2 separate regions of the Homo sapiens genome follow, and region 1 is linked to region 2. The links are contacts of gene promoters, found by promoter capture Hi-C in blood cells and fetal thymus (Javierre and others, 2016). All regions are on one chromosome and are shown on one strand. The core of a region is centred on a gene start or on the middle of the fragment in contact, and the rest is flanking DNA. Distances in the headings are between cores, read along the strand shown. Region 1 overlaps LOC105379193 (a long non-coding RNA gene). Region 2 holds the start of CTNNA1 (catenin alpha 1).

Region 1 (3,934 bases), core at 506-3,005, 170 kb after region 2:
CTGGATTGCAAATGTACAGGTTATGTATTTTGTGATGTGTTTCTGATAGAATTCAGGGATCAGGGAAGGAAAGATATTATTACTGATAGATTCTTTGAGGGTGAAGGGAGGGTCTTAGGAAACTGACTTCAACTTAAAAAAGAAAGGTAATTTGGTTTTAATCTTCAAAAAAAGTGCAGTTCATTTTGAAAAAAAATCACTGAGACTCACATTTTTGTGTTTAACAACAACCTTGAAATTGGTCTGCCTCAGAGGACAGCATGATTCTGGGCTACCTTAGCATGAATGATTTATGACATTCATGAACTTGGCAACTACATCAGTTTTTCTAAACCTGGCACCCAACACCACCTGCATGTTAAGTGAAGATTTATGATTTATAAAACTCACCTCATTATGCAGAGGTACATGAATTGTCTTATATCTGTAATCTATAACTCCCAAGACAGATAAGAAGGCAGCTATGTCACAGAATTTATGGCTCCTACCCACTAAAGCTGAAGTTTTAGAGAAAAACTGCAGAAATAACTGGCCCTTTGGAGAAAAATAGCTTTAGCTAACCATTACACCCCCAAATGATGAAATGGCTATAACCCACCATTATATCTTACATGAACAAAGAGGCTAACGGCAAAAGTCACTTTAATCACAGCACTGAACTATGTCCCCCTTTTGAATGCTGCGGTAATACACAGAACCTAAGTGACTTCTTGGAAATATCAAGCACTCTGTCAGTTTAATTTTTTCCCCAGTTTGGTGTCTGAGACCTCTTGCTGAGATTTCTCATCAAGTGGCCCAGCCAGACCCACAGACACGGACTTCAGGGAAGACAATTCAATACCTGGTTGTGTCTAATGGCTTCCTGCATATACCCCTAAAGTGAAGAAGATCACATGTTGATTTGAATTCTGAAAAGCAGCTTGTTCTCAGAGATATTTTAGAAATGCAGCCTCTCTCTCCCTATACCCTGAAAAAATAAAAAATAAATAAAAACTTGGAAGAACAGAGCATTCAGTGGAATAAACTTATGTAGCTTATGGAATAAGATTATATAGCTAGCCATTAAAAATGACAAGTATATGGGACCAGGTTGACATGCAGAAATCTTTAGACAATAGTAAACAAAATAAGCAGAACACAAAATGATAGAAAAAAATGATGTTTCAGTCCTAGAGATTTTCAATGGTATAAAGCTAAATGAAAAACAATAAAACCCTAAATAATCTATTTTCAAATTTCCCTACCAATAAGGAAATAGATATATACACATGGCTGCTGACTGCCCTGAATCTGAGAAGCACCCCACGCCTCCCTCCTCTGCAGAGCTCTCCAAAGAACATTCTACTCTCTCTGGCCTTTGAGTACTCTCAAAGAACACCAGCACTCAGATACCTAGGTCCACCGAAGAAAGCTGAAAATGTAAATGTCTTTACGTAGCAGGAGGAAAAGTACTCGAAAAAAAGAAGGTAGGAAACCCCCTTCCGTATTTGATAACTAAATAAACCTTTTAGGGAGATTGCTCTTTGCTATTTACTTAGTAACTTGATTTCTGAAATGTGTCTGGGATTCTCCCAGTTCTGACTTTGAGCTCTAGTGCCAGTGTGGTCACTCTAACTCGTGAAAATGATACTCCACTCACAAAATGGTGTCCTAGAACAAGAGGACAATATCAATGAACCACAGATTACACACCAGAAAAAGTGAAACGTCTTTGGCAACTGGGACTATACTCGAGAGCAGATAGATGCACAGACAGACCCCAGGGAAGAATTGTATTTGGGTTCAGGGACTCAGTTACCACTCCTCCTTAAGCGGCCTGTTGACACTTTACCACTCAAACACAGATGCTGTTCTCCAGGGCTCTGGGTGCTGATGTTCTGTTGGCTGCCTTTAATCCTGAAAGTGACTTCCCCAGTTCAGGCCAGGGATTCATGCTGTAATGGAATGAGAGAGAAGTGGGCCAGTACCATACACATGTACACCAATGCACACACCCAACACAACCTAGGACAGAGCAGACTTCCTTTGGGAAGCCATGCAAAGTTGCAGAGCACAGGCAGGATGGCCTCATTCACGGCTTCTACCCATTGGCACGCTTAGAAACAGTTTATTCTGGCAGGGTGCAGTGGCTCATGCCTGTAATCCCAGCACTTTGGGAGGCCAAGACGGGTGAATCACCTGAGCTCAGGAGTTAGAGACCAGACTGGCCAACATGGTGAAACCCCGTCTCTACTAAAAACACAAAAATTAGCTGGGCATGGTGACGCATGCCTGTAGTCCCAGCTACTTGGGAGGCTGAGGCACAAGAATTGTTTGAGCCTGGAAGGTGGAGGATGCAGTGAGTCTTGGTCGTGCCACTGTACTCCAGCCTGGGCAACAGAGCAAGACTTTGTCTCAAAAAAAAAAAAAAAAAGAAAAGAAACAGTTCATTTTTTTATGGAAGAGAGGTGTTCATGAGACCCTTATGCAAGCAGATCCCCTTTTCCCTTGAAGAACTCGTCAAAGCGATCCTTCCAGGTAAACTGGCTTGCTTCAGGTCATGGCACACACACACACAAGCCCTCTCACCCAACCCCTCAACCACTAGTTGAATAAAACAAGCAATTGGCACTTAAACTAAAGGCTGGGCCTGTAAGGTAAACCAGTGACCCATGTGACACCTTGGCACTTTTCTGGGCCTTTACTCTGCCCGACAAGGCTTTCCATATGGGATGATGTAATCAAGCCACACAGAGGAAGGCAGCAAGGGTGGTACAAGCAGCCCCAGGGATACTTTGGGGTACAGGAAAGAAGTATTTAAATCTATTTCTATTTTATCTCTTTCATTTTTGTTTTCTATTTTTATGTATTTGTAATAATAGTACTATATACACATATGTAGTTTATAAATACATGAACATACACATAATGGGAGGATGTGCGCCAATATTTTTCTAATAGGGACATGTAATGAAAAAATTTGGAGACAAGAAGACACCACAGAGTTTGGGCTATTTCTAAAAAGACGTGGTCCTTAATCTCCACCCCACCGACAGAATCCCCCTCTATTAAACATGCAGATTCCACGACCCATCTCAGACCTGAATGTCCAGAGGTGGGATACCAGTGCTCTGCATGCTTAAAGAACCACCTAGTAATTCTGACTGCTACTGAAGTTTGGGTACCATTGCAGCACAAGAATTAGAGAAGCTAACATAAAAAGGCTGAGCTAGAAAAAGGCAGAGTCAGTGCAGATGAGAACACCAGAAATCCATTTCTAAGAAGAAAACAGGTAACTGGCCGCTACAGCTCCTGATGGAGCCTGACTAAGAAGTCCCTGTTCTTCCAGCATTCTGGCTGTATGGGTATTGAGACAATGGCTTTACTTTCCCAACTAGTCTTCCATTAAACTCTCATCTCCTAAGGAAACCTGGGTATTTCCTCTCTTGACAGTTGAGGAACAGGAATGGGGAAACTGAGAAACTGTCTTGGTCAGCTCAGGCTGCTACAACAAAATATTGTAGACTGGATGGCTTAAACAATAGACAGTTCTTCCTTACACTTCCCGAGGCTGAAAGTCTGAGATGAGGGTGCCAGCATGGTGGGTTCTGGTGTGGGCTCTCTTCATGGGGAAGGGGAGATCATCTTTCCTGTTTCCTCTTGTAAAGGCACTAATTCCGGCTGGGCGCAGTGGCTCACGCCTGTAATCCCAGCACTTTGGGAGGCTGAGGCGGGTGGATCACGAGGTCAGGAGATAGAGACCATCCTGGCTAACATGGTGAAACCCCGTCTCTACTAAAAATACAAAAAATTAGCCGGGCGTGGTGGCAGGCACCTGTAGTCCCAGTTACTCGGGAGGCTGAGGCAGGAAAATGGCATGAACCCGGGAGGCGGAGCTTGCAGTGAGCTGCGATCGCCACTGCACTCCAGCCTGGGTGACAGAGTGAGACTCTGA
Region 2 (4,545 bases), core at 2,035-4,534:
CCAACATGGCCTCTGCCTTCTCTGGCAATCTCATGTGAGGTCTTCTCCCCACTGAAAAAGTACCCAAGCTATACAAGTCTTCTCTCAAGTCTCTAAACACACGGAGTCTTTCCTGTCTCAGGACCTCTACAAATGCAGAGGGCCCTGTTCCTTCTCTCCATATTCTCACCAGCACACAACACTACCCCCAACAATCAGGGCTGTCTGTTATGCCCCACAGTGAGTTACGTTCTCAAAGAAATCCGAAAGTGCGGTGGCTCACACCTGTAATCCCAGCACTTTAGGAGGCTGAGGCGAGTGGATCACCTGAGGTCAGGAGTTAAAGACCAGACTCACCAATATGATGAAACCCCATCTCTGCTAAAAATTAAAAAATCAGGCTGGGCACGGTGGCTGAAGCCTGCAATCCCAGCACTTTGGGAGGCCGAGGTGGATCACGAGGTCAGGAGTTTGAGACCAGCCTGGCCAACATGGTGAAACCCTCTCTATCAAAAATACAAAAAAATTAGGCAGGCATGTTGGCACACACCTGTAATCCCAGCTCCTTGAGGTTGAGGCAGGAGAGTTGCTTGAACCCAGGAGGCACGGGTTGCAGTGAGCCGCAATTATGCCACTGCACTCCAGCCTGGGAGACACAGCAAGACTATCTCAAAATAAATAAATAAATAAATAAATAAATAAGCCGGGCGTGGTAGCTTGCACTTAGTAATCCCAGCTACTCCGGAGGCTGAGACAGGAGAATCGCTTGAATCCCCAGGAGGTGGAGTTTGCAGTGAACTGAGATCACCTCACTGAACCCCAGCCTGGGCAACACAGGGAGACTCCATCAAAAAAAAAAAAAAAAAAAAAAAAAAAAAAAAAAAGAAGGAAATCCCAAAACCCGGGCAGGGCAGTTACCCTGGATCTCCACATCTGGTTCATGTCTCCAGAAGAGACAGGAGTCCCACTTTGGACACCTTGAGTTTGAGAAGCCTGGGACACCCAAAAAGCTTCCCAATGCACAGGTGACCATGTGGGTCAGGAGACACACCTGCACTCAAAGGCTTGGACTTTTAGCACATAAGGCTGATGACAGAAGAGACTGCACAGAGCAGTGATTCTCATCTTGGAGGAGGGTACCTCTCATCTCTAAGTCACTATATGAAATGAGATATCACTGATGGGAGTGAAGGTGATGCCACATCAGTGGTGTGGAGGACAAAGATACTTTGGAAAGAACCCTGGGTACGAGAGGAAAGAGTGAGGGCGAGGAAAAGAAAGAAACTGAGATGAGTCAAAAGGAAAAGAAAACCAGGAGAGTGATATCACAATTCCCCAAACTCCTATGCCCTTTTATGCTTCTCATGACTTTCTCCCTTCACTTAAAAAAAACTCGACTCATGTTTCATCCAGATCAAATGCCACCACCTCCTGAAAGCCTTTCTGGACTTACCCAAGTAAAACTTATTAGCCCCCTCTCCGTGCCTCTACAAGTTTCTTTTGTTGTTACTATTAGGTAAGATTTGACTCAGACAATAGTTTCATTAGTACTGTTAAGGCACTTACTGCAGTCCGCTCTGTACTACACCTGGGGTGTGTGTCTCCCCTATTACACTGTGAGCTCTTAGGTGGATTAAAAAATTATTCTTTCGCTGAATAAATATCCAGATGGGGTCAGGCACCCTGGCTCAGGCCTGTAATCACAACACTTTGGGAGGCTGAGGCAGGAGGACCACTTGAGCCCAGGAGTTCGAGACCAGCTTGGGCAAGACAGCGAGACACCATCTCTACCAAAAATACAAAAATTAGACGGATGTGGTGGCGCGTGCCTGTAGTCCCAACTACTTCGGAAGCCGAGGTGGGGGGATCACTTGAGCCCAGGAGACAGAAGCCGCAGTGAGTCATGATCGTGTCACTGCGCTCCAGCCCGGGCGACGGAGACCCCGTCTTTAAAAAAAATGTTTGTTCAAAAGTCCAGATTGGTAAATAATTAGGCAGAAACTATAGGTAACTCCTACACTCATTCTTCATTCTTCCTGTAAAACAAAATAACACATCCTAATTAATTCGATTTATAAATTCCGTTCCTTAAAGTAACACCCACCTGTCCAGTATTTAAAAATCACTGCTGACTAAACACAAATATTCGCTCCACAAAATGCCTATCCTGTCCCAACAATGATGTAAGCATTTCCTTCATCATAAATATAAAATGCCCCGAATTTAGTCGTAGACTTGACATATCTCGCTCTTTTCCAAATAATTGTAAATTCTGTACAAAACACACGCACCAAAAAAATGTCACCAAGATGCAAGAGGACGTAAGAGGGAGTCAACCTTGGAACTGGGCCAACCGCCGCCTGCATTACTGGGAAGCCACTGCTGCCAAGCAAAGGTCAGGCATTCATTCAGGCAACATTTTTTCCAACAAGTGCTTCACACTCGCACGCACACACACGCTCCTTTAAAAGTCAACAACAATTAAAAAAAAAAAAAAACCTCTCTAATGCCACTCCTGAAAACTAGGGCTGAAAGCTAAGTGCGTCCAACCGACAAGAAACCCAGGAAAGCTGAGTAATCCCCGAGTCCAAGTGGACGGTCACGCCAAAAGTCCACACGGGTGTGGCCCACCTACGGCGAAGCTGTATGGGAGAAGCCCGGGCTCCAGCCTCCCGGTTCGCCGAGCCCGCGTCCCCGCCGCCCCATCGGGAAGTCTCAGCGGCCGGGAAGGGGGAGGGGGCAGGAACGCCTCGGAGCCGGACGACAATCACTTCCCGGGAAAGCGGCTCCCAGACAAGCCGCCCCAGGGAAGGAAGGCGGCCGAGGGGCCCGGCGCGGGGCTGCCGCGCGCGCCGAGGCCGCGGTAACAAAGTTTGGAAACCGCGAGAAAACTTTTCCAAGAGGAAACGCGGCGGCGGCGCTGGGCCTATAGTTTCTCCTCCCCAGCCCAGGCGGCCCCCCGACTTCCCGAGCGCTGGGAAGCGCCGGCCGTGCCCGCCCGGGCCCCATACTCGGGCCCTGCGGGGGAAGGGACCGCCGGCCCGACGCGGGTCCCACGCCCGCCCGGGGCCCAATTCCCGGCGACGTCGCCAAAGAAACCGCGCCCCGCCCGCTCGCCCGCCCGCGGCTCGCGGGGCCCAGCTTGGGACGGCCCGGCCCAAGGACCCTCTCGGCCTGGCCCGAGAGACCGCGCCCGCGAGGAGGGAGGTACGAAGTTACCTGCGGCTAGCTGGGCGAGCGCTAAATTCCAGAGGCCCGAAGCAGACGGGCGCTGCTTTGTCTCCCTCCAGTCCGGCTAGGAGGAGGAAATGGGCCGCCCCACGCCCCCGCCCCCGGCCCGCCCCCCGCCCGCGGCCCCCGCCCCTGTCCCGGCCCCGCCCGCCCTTCCTGGCACCTCCCTCCGACTCGCTCTTCCCGGCGCCTCCCGCCGCCGCCCCGCCCGCTCCTCCCGGCCGTTCCGGCCTCCGCTTTTGGGGAAAGGGAAGGCCCCCACCGCGAAGAGAGTCTGGCAACGCCGGACCGGGACCCCCGAGGGACCTCTTCCTCCCCGCCGCCCACCTCAGAATTCCTTCCTCCCCGGCCCCTAGTGGGAGCTTAGGCCGGGAGTGACCCCTGAGAGGGAGGAGGAGCGGTGACTCCTGGAACAGCCCGCGGGCGGAGAGGGCTGCGCGAGGGCAGGTGAGTCACCGCTCCGCGCACAGGTGAGGCTCAGGGGCGGCCTCGCGCGGGCCCCCACCCCGGCGGAATCCCAGAGACGCGACCAGGGGTACTGGGCACGCTCCCCTCAAGAGTGTCACAGGTGTCCCGGAGTCACAGTCTTCTGGAAAAGTGATCTAGGCCAACTACCTGGCTTTACAGAAGGAGAAGCGGAGGCTAAGGAAAGGCCCCACAGCTTCGGGACACAGTGGAACTAGAATCTGACTCTCAGGACCTTTCATAATGTGAGGTGGAAGCGCCCCTAGAATTCACCTAACCCGTCCCCTCACTCCACAGATGGAAACACCCGAAGCCCTCTTGATCAAGGACTTTTTTTTTTTTTTAAGACGGGGTCTCCCTCTGTCGCCCAGGCTGGGGTGGAGTGTCGCGATCACGGCCCACTGCAGCCTCAAATCCCTGGACAACCGACCCTCCCACCTCAGCCTCCGGAGTAGCTGGAACTACAGACACAGAGTCTCACTATGTTGCCAGGCTGGTCTCAAACTCATGGGCTCAAGAAATCCTCCTCAGCCTCCCAAAGTGCTGGGATTACAGGCTAGAGCCACCTTGCGGGGAGGACATTTACAAACACAAAAGAGGCACCGCAGCAGCTGTCCCTTTTTGGGCTTGTTCCCGCCCCGCCCCCAGCACGTCCCCCCTCCCAGCTTGTCCCCCTCCTCCAACAAATTTGAGGGACCTGACTTCTATCTCTATTCCTCTGGTCATTTGGGGCATTTTATTCTTACCCTTTCTTATCTTCATAGTGAATACTCCAAAAACAAAAGAAAACAAAATTACAAAGCAAACAAACAACACAAAAAAACAAAAACTACTACATGCTCACTATCATCCTGGTATAGAAAACCCTAA

What was found. Contacts are between HindIII fragments. The CHiCAGO score rates a contact against its expected background, and 5 or more counts as called.
Region 1: a fragment that was not itself captured here is called in contact with the fragment with the promoter of CTNNA1 in region 2 in 7 of 17 cell types (M1 macrophages, megakaryocytes, M2 macrophages and 4 more); the score reaches 8.6 in M1 macrophages.

Annotation. Positions count from the first base shown.
Region 1 is chr5:138,581,828-138,585,761 of GRCh38, reverse strand. LOC105379193 (a long non-coding RNA gene) reads right to left here. Exons shown (of 3, transcript XR_001742900.1): 2 at 1,832-1,934; 3 at 673-967. Among named protein-coding and RNA genes, the nearest start is that of HSPA9, 8.4 kb to the right of the region's middle. The HindIII fragment of the contact is 9,043 bases long and covers 1-3,934 here.
Region 2 is chr5:138,752,164-138,756,708 of GRCh38, reverse strand. CTNNA1 (catenin alpha 1) reads right to left here and starts at 3,284. Exons shown (of 18, transcript NM_001903.5): 1 at 3,199-3,284. CTNNA1-AS1 (CTNNA1 antisense RNA 1) reads left to right here and starts at 2,785. Exons shown (of 2, transcript NR_134244.1): 1 at 2,785-3,186. RefSeq lists enhancers at 2,117-2,683, 2,684-3,251 and a silencer at 2,955-3,394. The HindIII fragment of the contact is 6,352 bases long and covers 992-4,545 here.